Linked DNA regions of Homo sapiens: region 2 is linked to region 1. The links are contacts of gene promoters, found by promoter capture Hi-C in human tissues and cell types (Jung and others, 2019). All regions are on one chromosome and are shown on one strand. The core of a region is centred on a gene start or on the middle of the fragment in contact, and the rest is flanking DNA. Distances in the headings are between cores, read along the strand shown.

What was found. The method cuts DNA at HindIII sites, captures the fragments that hold promoters and counts their contacts. A contact is called where the count stands out against the background at its distance.
Region 2: a fragment that was not itself captured here is called in contact with the fragment with the promoter of RGS7BP in region 1 in 2 of the 25 tissues and cell types used here (H1 embryonic stem cells and dorsolateral prefrontal cortex).

Annotation. Positions count from the first base shown.
Region 1 is chr5:64,504,568-64,510,415 of GRCh38, forward strand. RGS7BP (regulator of G protein signaling 7 binding protein) reads left to right here and starts at 1,448. Exons shown (of 6, transcript NM_001029875.3): 1 at 1,448-2,222; 2 at 3,144-3,310. The coding sequence starts at 2,058. The HindIII fragment of the contact is 10,674 bases long and covers 1-5,848 here.
Region 2 is chr5:64,548,212-64,554,198 of GRCh38, forward strand. All of the region lies in intron 2 of RGS7BP (regulator of G protein signaling 7 binding protein), which reads left to right. Among named protein-coding and RNA genes, the nearest start is that of RGS7BP, 45 kb to the left of the region's middle. The HindIII fragment of the contact is 3,749 bases long and covers 1,148-4,896 here.

The DNA.
Region 1 (5,848 bases), core at 198-2,697:
TATTAGCAGTCTATTCTAAAGGATACAACTGAGGAGCAGCCAACTGGAAGAGAAACATAGGGCAAGGTATGGGAAAAGGACATGGAACTTCCATGCTCTTTCCTGGTGTACCACCCTTCCAGCACCTAGATGTCTTCCACAACCCAGAAGCTCCCCACACTCTATTGTTGTTTAGGAGTTTTACAGAGGTTTCTTTATGTAGGCATGATTGATTAAATAATTGGCCATTGGTGAGGAACGCAGTCACTAGCTCCTCTCCTATCCCCTGAGATTGGGGGATGAGGCTGAAAGTTGCAAGCAACTAATCAAGGCTTGGTCTTTCTGGTGACAAGATGGCTTATCATAATAACTCAGGCAATTTCTAAGGGTTTTAGGAGTTCTGCCCTAGGGACTGGGGACAAAGACCAAATAACTCTCTTATTATAGTACCCCATTATATTTACTTGTCTTGTAGAAAAGGTTGTAAAGCCACCCTCCTTAGGATATTAACCTTCCTGGCTATTTCAGGCTTTCTCTTTCTATGTACTCTCCATATCCCTTTAACAGACTGACCAGGAACCTCTAATCTGTTCTTATTAGGATTACTAATACATAACTAGTTTTCCTATGGGAGACCCCTTTATCTCCCTCTCCAAACAAATCATTCAGGAGAACAAGCATCCTTAGAGCCTTAGAGTTGAATGCCACAACACTCTCTCTTCCTCCCAGAAGAACCTTAGGAAGATGTCAGTGGGAAGGGTGAACTTAAATGGCTGAGGGCCTCACCCCCACTCCTTTCACACAAGAATCATCCCCGATTTTCTGGGCCACCTCTGTTGGCCTCTGGGTTACTGATATCCCATAAGTGAGAAGAAGGTCATTTTGAGTGTCCAGGGAGATCTCTTGGCTCTTATTTGTTCAAGTCTCCGGAAGGGAACTCTAGGAGCTGAGTCCTGAGACCCTGCAATGCAAGACCAAGAGCTTTACTACTTGAAATGGGATGGGGATGAGGCCCAATCTGAGTGAATGCCTCTGTGCATTCTGCCTCACTGGCTCTCCTCTTTCCCCCTCCATGAACAAGGACAAAATAAAAACAAAACAACTCAGGGAAACAAAGCTCTCCTTTTAGGTTATCAAGAGGTCTTCCATTTGGAGCAAAACCTCACTCCCTCCTGTGGCCCCTGTCTCAGTCTCAGTTGGTGAGGGCCTCAAGCCCACACTGGCTTATTTGAAATCCATGTTTAGGTCCCAGCATGTGGCATGTGCTCCACTCTGATGACACTTTTCGTTTCTAATAATAGAGCAGATGAAGTAATATTGCAATTGATGTTCCCGGGGATTTGATTGGATAAGTGCATAAACTGTGGAGGGGGAAGGGGGTTGCATGGACAGATCACATTAGTATTCCCGTCCTATCAATGTGCGGGCCCGCGAACAACGTCAGCCGGACCGATTCTCTGCGTCTGCCAGTCCCGCCACAGATTCATCTGGGATCTTCAAACAGACAAGCCCTTAGAGACGAGGGATCAAGGCAGCCGATTAGAGCCAATTGCTTGCTTTGGGGACGGCCAGTCCTTCCAGGCCTGGCGACAGTGGAGGGAGGGGAAAGACGAACCGAGTGCCGCTGCGGGAAGACACTGAAGCAAGAGCGACACCCCTTTCCGCCCCCCACCTTGCAGCGCAGGCTTTGAAAGCTGCTCCCCCACCTGAATGGAAACTCGGAACCGCCGGGCGGCGCGTTCCTTCTCGCCCAGCCTTGCAATCCATGCCGAGAGGAAGGCAGTGCGAGCCCGCGCCAGCGCCCAGCTCCCGGGACAGGGTCGGCAATGCTGCTGAGCAGAACTTGATCGCGCTCCTTCCTCGCTGCTAGTGGAAGCGATGCTGCACGGCACAGCTAGCGCTTCCCCGGCTCTCCTTCAAGCTGAAGGTTACCGACCCGCGCAGCCAGCCCCAGCACTGTGAGCTGCGCGCCTCAGGTCCGGGCTCCGGCTGCTTGGCGGCGGCGCCCAGGGCAACAACCGGGCCGCCCGCGCCGGGGCGCACTGCACCAGCGGCTTCGGCTTGGTGGATGTGTATGCATGAGTTCTGCACCGAATGGGCGCAAAAAGCGCCCCAGCCGGTCCACCCGCTCCTCGATCTTCCAGATCAGCAAGCCCCCGCTGCAGAGCGGAGATTGGGAGCGCAGGGGCAGCGGCTCCGAGAGCGCCCACAAAACCCAACGAGCCCTGGACGACTGCAAGATGGTGGGTGAAAACTGCGCCTCTTTTTTTTTTTTTTTAATTGAGAGGGGGTGGGGGGAGTCATGTATGTTAATCATTTGCCTGAGTGCCAGCCACTCCCCCACCCTCAGCTCCTCAATGCCGATCACGTGGCACATGCACTATTTTTAAATCTGCAGTCCCCCAAATTCAGGGTGACACCCTGGTCGTAATAACCCTGCAGAAAGAAGTGTGACAGCAAGGGTCTTGGGGATCAGCGGCTGTAGGTTGTGCCTGTACCCCCTCGAAGAATGGTGGATGCGAAAGACACAGTGAACTGGCTCGCTCACGGAGGAGGGAGGGATGAGGAGGTGGGGATGCTGCTTTCTGGGGACAGAGTAGCAAACAAACCCAAATACAGCGCACGGGGCGCTGCGGAGGGGTCGAAGGTTCCAGCGCAGAGGCTGTAGCTGGTCTTCCCGTCAGGCCGTCAGGCCGAGAGGTTCAGTGGCCCAGCAAAAGGTGAATGGTTTGCCTATTACACCCTACCTGTCGCCTCCCCCGCCCCTCCCGCCGTGCAACTTAAAAGCCATGTCCTAGCAGTAGGAGAGGGGACCGTCTATGTAGGAGTCCCCAGCATCATTCTCTGTTGGCCTGGGAGTGGCATGGTAGCGCTCCAAATATGCTCTCTTGCTCTTCAGAAACTGAGTCTGAAAGGGTGAGGGGAAGTAGGTCTGGAAATAGAGCTTCCATGGCCAGGCTTGCCTATGGAAATAAATACTTGCCTTGGACAAAGAGACTTGCCATTTTGGTGCCTTCTGCTTTAAACAATTCCTAGGTTCCTTAGCTGGAGATCTGGGGAGCTGACTCAGGGGTCAGTGAAAGCCCCTGTTTATGTACTCCGAAACAGGAAACTTTCTGATGAGAAATGTTTGGTAAAAAAAAAAAAACTCACTTCTTTTCCAGCTTGTCCAAGAGTTCAACACACAAGTGGCCCTGTACCGAGAGCTGGTCATTTCTATTGGGGATGTCTCGGTCAGCTGCCCCTCACTCCGGGCGGAAATGCACAAGACAAGAACCAAAGGCTGTGAAATGGCCCGTCAGGCACACCAAAAATTGGCTGCCATCTCAGGGTAGGAGACTCGGCATTATTTGGTAATCCATATACATGATGCATGGATGCTGACAGAATTTTATGGTAGTCAAGTCCTCAGACATGATCTCCACATATTTGAGATTTTAACCTTAAGATCGAAATTCTCTAGAGAGCTATACACAAACTATAGGCCAAACCATAATTTGAAGGCTGTGTCATTCTTGCATATATGTATATATATTTAGAAGATTTGGATCAAATGATTTTTTAAAAACTTAATTTTCAATACTCTGGCCACATTCTGGAATTTGGAGCATAAGATTTGGGGTGGATGGCTGGACATCAAACTGAAGTTAAATCATCTTGCCTCAAAATTATTTTGTCATCTGCTGCTGAACAAAAGGCCTGTGCTGTAGAGAAAAACTCTTTCCCAAATCCCAGATTTACTAAACTATTTATACCATGAGATAAATTCCTATGATACCGCCTAAAATAAAATCCCTAAAATAAGGTCTTAGATATAAATTACTCTCTTCACTGTGGTGATAGGAAGGGGTAAGTTTTAGCATAAGAACAGTTTTTAAAGATTGGGGAAATTCACATATCTCAATAAACCTAACATGATTTTGTCCCCCAAATTTTTATTTATTTTCATCAGATTTATCGTTTTTCTAGCCTGTATTAGGAGATAATTCAGTATGTGAAAACTTCTCTCTTGGGACCCTACCTACACTTTCTTTCATCTCTTAATATTGGGGAAAAAGTTAGCCATGGATTTTGTTAACAGTTCCTATTTTCAAGATAAGTACTTAGAGCAAGGAAACACAGGAATCCTTATACAAATACATCAATACATTAATTTAAGTGCTTTGTTCAGTCTGGATATAGTATTTACCTGTTTATCTATGTGAGTATAGCTTTATCGCAGCAGAAGTTCAAATTAGACTCACCTGATAATGTTACAAGCTGATCACTTGTAGGAAGTATATCTAATTTACCTATTTGAAAGAATCACTGTTTGCCATCTTTAATTCCAATAATATGTATAGTGATTATAAAGTTTATAAAGATTGGAAAGCCATATACTGCCTCTGTTAATAATTACTTTACATTTGACCACAGGCATTTTATATCATGAAAAATGATATGCTGTACTCATCTCCTTGAAGAGAGGGATAAACAAAATATGTTATAACCATATTTTATTTAGTAAAAATATTGAGAAGCCTTATCCTTTTCTGTTTTAACTCTTATACTATTCTTAACAAGAAGTAAATCCGGGAAATGGAGGGGAATTAAGTGGTTCAGGAGTTTGGTGAAGAAATACAGCTGTGATAAATCTCAGACAAGGAGAGAGACAGAAAAAAAAAATCAGAAATGTGAAGGAGCACTGGTAAATTTAGAAGTACAGATAAACAGTAATTCAAAAGGAAAAGCAGATTTAGGACAGGAAATTTTCTCTCAAGGCTAAGGAGTAGCAACTCTGTAAACTTTGTGTCCTAGATTATAGGATGGGATTGCATTTAGGATCCCTCTGAGTTGGAACTCAAAATGAGAACATGTTCTAATCAGAGATGGTGGGCTGGAGGAATGAACAAGGAGTTCGATTCAGTCTATTTTGCGACACACACAAAATTCAGGGTCTTCTGAAGGTTCAGGAAAGAAAAGGTCTGAAACTATTGACTAAAAGTTGAGTTTGGAGGATTTCAGGTGGATTTTTTTTTTCTTTGAGAGGTATTATAGCTATGTTACCCCGGCTGGTCTTAAACTTCTGCACTCAAGTAATCCTCCCGCCTCAGGCTCCAGAGTAGCTGGGACTACAAGAATGCACCATGGTACCTGGCTTGAGGTGGATTTTATTTACTCTGGTGTTTTTAGCTCTTTGCTACTTGTTTGCATGTTATCTGTGTGTTGATGTTAATGGGGGCAGTTTTATAAGAATTAGTGGGAAAATAAGATGTTCTTAGAGCCTTGCCAAAGGAAAACCAACTCCATAAAATATTCTAGGATAGAACTTGACACATTTCCCCCCTTACAATAATAATTAAATGCAATTTAACATTCGTTATAAAAAATGACAGCAATATAATTGAAGGAAATCCCTTTAGTTCCTCACCATCTGGGCTCCGTTAATGAAGGATGTGATTCCCTTTGGCGGAATTCCGTTTCTGATATCATTTGTTATGTGGGTTCTTGTTTCAAGCTTGATGTGAAGGCTGGTAGGGAGGCTGTAGGAGTCACTTTAAAGTTTGAAGCAGGAGTGAGAAAAGCAAAGGTTTTTGGCGAAATTTAGAGAGAAGAACTGGATTTCTTGCGCGCCCACTATTTGTCATCACAACCCAGCTATTTCCTTTCAGCTGAGGGAGGGATTATTATTCTTATTCTACAAATAGGTCTAGAGAGATTGAGGAACTTGCCCAAAGTCACACAGCTAAGAAGTGACACAGCTTTGATTCAGCCCCATGTTTGCATGCTTCTGATTTTCATGCTTTTTCCTCTATATAATGCTGCCATTCAAAAAGGTGTTACGTATAAAGGATACATGATAAAATATAAACTAACCTTAAAAAGAGTA
Region 2 (5,987 bases), core at 1,772-4,271, 45 kb after region 1:
CATGGTAAATATATTTAGAAATCTGTTTAAACGTTTCACCAAAATAAGATAAGTTACAGATTTAAGTATAAATTCTGAAGTATTAAAGTACTAGAAAATAATAGAGACACATATTTATACAATTGAGTCAGAAAGGCCTTTATAAAAGTGACACTGAAACCAGTGAACTTAACAAAAATGTTTGACACGTTTGCCTATATAATAATTTAAAATTTCTGTACGCAAGTTAAATTACACCACATAGAAACATAAATTCAAGATTTGAAGTATTTTACTGGACAACCAACCTGTTCTCTTTTTTATTTTTTTACTTTCTGAGATGGAGTCTCGCTCTGTCACCCAGGCTGGAGTGCAGTGGCGTGATCTCGGCTCACTGCAACCTCCGCCTCCTGGTTTCAAGCAATTCTGCCTCAGCCTCCTGAGCAGCTGGGATTACAGGCACCCACCACTACATCTGGCTAATTTTTGTATTTTTAGTAGAGACGGGGTTTCATCATGTTGGCCAGGCTGGTCTCGAACTTCTGACCTCAAGTGATCTGCCCACCTCGGCCTCCCAAGGTGCTGGGATTATAAGCATGAGCCACCACTCCTGGCCTTGTTCTTGTTTTTCTAAAAAAAGGCAAAGTCGAAAGCCCTTTCCTTTTTTTTTTTTTTTTACTAAGTACCCTAATTACTTCCCAAAGACCTCATCACTAAATACCATCACATTGTGGGTTAGGACTTCAACATATAAATTTGTCGGGGGACACAAGCTTTCAGTCACACACATTCCATTTTTGGCCTTCCAAAATTTGTATGCTTCTCTCACGCAAAATACATTCCATCCCAATAGCTCTGAAAGTCTTAACTCATTCCAGCATCACCTCTAAATTTTAAAGTCCAAGGTCTCATCTAAATAACACCTAAATCAGATATGAATGAGAGTTGAGGTATAATTCATCCTGAGGCAGAATTCCTCGCCAGCTATATATCTGTGAAAACAGACAAGTTATGTACTTCCAAAATACAATGATGTGGCAGACACAGGCTAGATATTCCCGTTGCAAAAGGGAGAGATAGATAGGAAAAAAGGAAGGGGTGACAGGTCCCAATCAAGTCCAAAGTTTAGCAAAACAAATTCCATTAGATGTTAAGGCTTGGGAATAATCCTCTCTGGTTCAATGCTCTGTCCTCCAGGTCAACTGGGTGGCAGAGTCAGCCTATGGCTCCAGGTGGGGGTCCTGCCCCCATGGCTCTGCCAAGCAGTTCTGCCCTCAAGGCTTCAGGCACAGGCCATCTGGCCTGTTGATACTGAGGCAGTGGCCTTGAAATTTCTGAATCACCTTCAGGGTCATTTTTTCTTCTTCTTGAAGAATATCACACATGGCTGAATAGCTTGATCATTCCCTCCTGTCAAGTCTGAAAAGTCTGACAGCTTTCCTTCATTTTGTCCTGTCTCCATCCCCTTCTGTTCAAACTGGCAGTGCTTCTGCTCATATAATCCCATAAGCTCTTTATCAAGTGATGGTCCAGCCACACCCTTGGTGTTCTCTTCAGAACAAGCTTTCTCATTATTTTTTATAATATGGGTAGGCTGAGAATTTTCCAAATCCTCAAGTTCTGGTTTCTTTTTGCTAAACAATTCCTTCTTCAATTCATCTCTCTTCTTTTACATTTTACTGTAAGCACTCAGAGGAGCCAAGTCACTCCTTCAACACTTAGAAATCTTTTCAGCTAAATACCCAATGTCATCGCTTGGTAGTTCTACCTTCCACAAAACACGAGAAAACAGTTCAGCCAAGTTTTTTGTTACTTTATAACAAGGATCATCTTTCCTGCAGTTTCCAAAATATGTTCCTCATTTCTGTCTGATACCTTACCAGAATCACCCTTAACCTCCATTTCTGGCATGTACATTGAAACTCTTCCAGCCTCTACCCATTACCCAGTTCCAAAGCCACTTCCACATGTTTAGGTATTTGTTATAGCAGTCTGCTCTGACTGCCATAACAAAATACCACAGACCAGGTGGCTTAAACAACAGACACTGATTTTCTCACAGTTATGAAAGCTGAACATTCAAGATCAGGATGCCAGCATAGTTGAGAGCCAGGGCTCTTTTCCTGGCTTGCAGATGGCCACTATCTCACTGTATTCTCACTTGGCAGAGTGAAAGAGAGAACAAGCTTTCTGATGTCTCTTTTTCTAAAGGCACTAACCCCTCAGACTAGGGCCCCACCCTTATGACCTCATCTAACCCTCATCTAAATACCCCATCTCCAAATACCATCATCACATTGACAGTTACAGCTTTAACATATGAATTTGGTGAGGGGATTCAGGCCATAATGTAGAATATTTCTCACTTTGTAAAACAAATGCATTTTTTTAATTTTATTATTATTATACTTTAAGTTTTAGGGTACATGTGCACAATGTGCAGGTTTGTTACATATGTATACATGTGCTATGTTGGTGTGCTGCACCCATTAACTCATCATTTAGCATTAGGTATATCTCCTAATGCTATCCCTCCCCCCTCCCCCAACCCTGCAACAGTCCCCAGTGTGTGATGTTCCCCTTCCTGTGTCCATGTGTTCTCATTGTTCAATTCCCATCTATGAGTGAGAACATGCGGTGTTTGGTTTTTTGTCCTTGCGATAGTTTGCTAAGAATGATGGTTTCCAGTTTCATCCATGTCCTTACAAAGGACATGAACTCATCATTTTTTATGGCTGCATAGTATTCCATGGTGTATATGTGCTGCATTTTCTTAATATATTAAAAATGAAGTGTTCAAAATTATATAAATATTATTTTCTAAAGCTTTTAAACCAGAATACAATCATAGCAGCAATTACCCATATTGAATGCTGGCTCAACTGAGGTTTCATTTCCTTGAAACACAAGTCATTTCTACCTACTCTCTGTATTGGGTTTTCTGCTTATTTGTCACCCATATTCAAGAATGTTCCCCCTTCTGCCAACACAGTGTTAAAACAGACAAAGATTACTGTCTATAGAAGCATCCTGTGTCTTAAGGATTTTTTTTATTTTTTTATTTATTTTTTATTTTATTTTTTTTTTTTTGAGATGGAGTCTCACTCTGTCTCCCAGCCTGGAGTGCAGTGGCGCAATCTTGGCTCACTGCAACCTCTGCCTCCCCAATTCAAGCAATTCTCCTGCCTCAGCCTCCCGAGTGGCTGGGATTACAGATGTGTGCCATGACGCCTGCTTAATTTTTGTATTTTTAGTAGAGACAGGGTTTCACCATTTTGGCCAGGCTGGTCTCAAACTCCTAACCTCAAGCCATCAGCCGGCCTTAGCCTCCTAAATTGTGTGTCTTAAGGATTTTTATGGGAGTCACCCTATATTAAGACTATAGAGTGTGCTTCAATTCATCTTTAGACATCAAGTATTTAGAAAAAATATTTCAAATCAGCACTTGACTATTAAGACCAAAGGGATTATTCTAAAGAGCTTCTGGCCGTTTTTAGGTCTGGAAAACACAGCATGTTTTTCTGCATTTTGTTGAAATTTCTTTCTTTCCTTTTATTATATGTTAAGCAGTTATTAATAATTACTTTGTCCATTATATATTAGTATTCTATTCTTTATAGCTAATCTAAAATCTTTTACTTTTTAAATTTTAAGATCACTTTTCAATTGTTCCAATTACATATCATCTGGTTCATATATAGTTTCTTCTAAAAATATATTTGTTCAGCTGACATCCTTACAGTAAGTTCATCAGTATACTAAAAACAGAAGCAGGTTAGCTTGACAACTGCATGTTTGATACCTTATAAACTGGATTAGAATTTGTATTAGAAGCTGGATATGTGCCTTTATCAAAATTTTTGAAAAAATAAGGCATCTCTTCACTTTTTATCTGCATAACTAACTTTCCTTATTTTCAAGGTATATTTTAAAGTGTATTCAACACTCAATAAAATATGTCTTTTGATGATCACAAATGGTGATAATGTGGTCTAATGTAAACAGTCTAGAAAAATTTATCCCCTAAATAACATCTCCTAAAATGGTATTTTAAACTGTATCTATTAGAAAAAATTTCTGTTCTTATTTTCAGAAATGGTTACTCTTTTTTCTTCTCCCAATTCTGATTATTTTTTCCAAAGTCAGTAATATTTTCTAAATAGCTTTCCAAAACTTAGTCAGTTTTTAGACTATCTTAACTACTTCTGACATTTTCTTAATTATTTAACTTATGAAGTAGAAAGTATCTTATTGAATTTGAGGGAATACTCTTTTCTTTTTCTTGTTTTCTTTCATCTTTGTACTAATTTCTCAACAAAGGAGAATTAGAACTGACTCGACATACCTAACATATCTTCATTTTGAATTGCCTCTATACATGAAATAAGTGTTTGTCCTGATTTGACATAATCTGGAATGAGAATTTCCACTCTGCATCATCAACTTTTATCACCTGGGTCTGAATTTAGATTGTGGCTTTCTGGCCTTGTAAATGTTGCTATTTTCTTTCCATGGTGTCTATTGACTATTTTGTCAATTTAGAGGCTTTTGATTCTGTTTTGTTTTGTTTGAGACAGGGTCTTGCTATGTTGCCCAGGCTGGTCTCAAACTCCTGGGCTCAAGTAACCCTCCTGCCTCAGCCTCCCAAGTAGTTGATTCTGTTTTGAAGTAACATGGGACAGTTGCAAAAGCCCAGATAATTTGAAATCAGGATGTTTTTGTTTCACAGTCTTGTGCTGTCCAAAAGAAAATAAATTATCCGGACTTACTTCTTTTCTTCCTCCCTTAATAATGGCTTCCATGGGAGAATCAATGTCAGATTTGCACCTACAACCTATAACACTTAAATGTCAGTCCTTATTAATGAACCTCTAGTATTCTTGTTTTTTAGCCTGCCTTTTATTTTTGGAGCTTTATAGTTAATCTTTCAGATGACTTAGTGTAACTTGAATCTGTAGGACTTCCTTCCTTTCTTTCTTTCTTTTTTTTTTTTTTTTTTTGAAACGGAGTCTCACTCTGTCACCCAGGCTGGAGTGCAGTGGCATGATCTTGGCTCACTGCAACCTCTGTCTCTCAGGTTCAAACAATTCTCCTGCCTCAGCCTCCTGAGTAGCTGGGATTACAGGCATGTGCCACTACACCCAGCTAGTTTTTGTATTTTTGTAAAGATGGGGTTTCACCACATTGGCCAGGCTGGTCTTGAATGCCTGACCTCAGGTGATCCACCTGCCTCGGTCTCCCAAAGTGCTAGGATTACAAGCGTGAGACACCATGCCCAGCCCCTTCCTTTCTTCCTTTATTCTTTTCTACATTCTTTCTTTCTTTTCTTTCAAAATGACACTTTTTTTTTCAAAATGTCAGCCAACATTTTGATAGCATGCTTGCACCCAATGTTTAGTGTAGTAGAAAGAGCCTAGGCTTTGGGGTTACAGTACCAATCCTAGGCTTCATAGTTCTATGACCCCTGAGAATTAACCAAGTCTCAGTTTCCTCATCTTTAAAATATTAATAATATCTATACATCATAAGGTCTGTGTAAGATTGAGTGAGATAATGTATCTATTTCTGGCAAGACACTGGTTAAATAACCCTAAAACAAACAAGATAGTTAAGTTGTACAATGTATACAAACACCCTCTTAAATGTATAACTAAGCTCACAGGAAAGGAAGAGAAATCTTCAGGGTCAAAAATGAATAGGGAACAAAAAGTGAGTTGAAAGGCAGCATGGTCTGATACTATGGCTTCCCTGAGGGAGTTCGTTGACTCCATTAAAAAGGGGCTTGTAGTTAGAAGATCATATGGGAGCAGGAATTAGAACTGAGATATACACATAAAGTCATTTGCTGGATATCTGCTCTTTGACCCTCCAAATCTGCTCTTTGCCCTTCTCCACCCTATATCATCCCACTCCCTTATCCTCTGGATTTCAGTTTGGCTTGGTCAATCGGGAACTCTGGCAGGACATTGGAAGGAAGGAGAAGAGTTAAGCCAGGGTATTTATTCTCC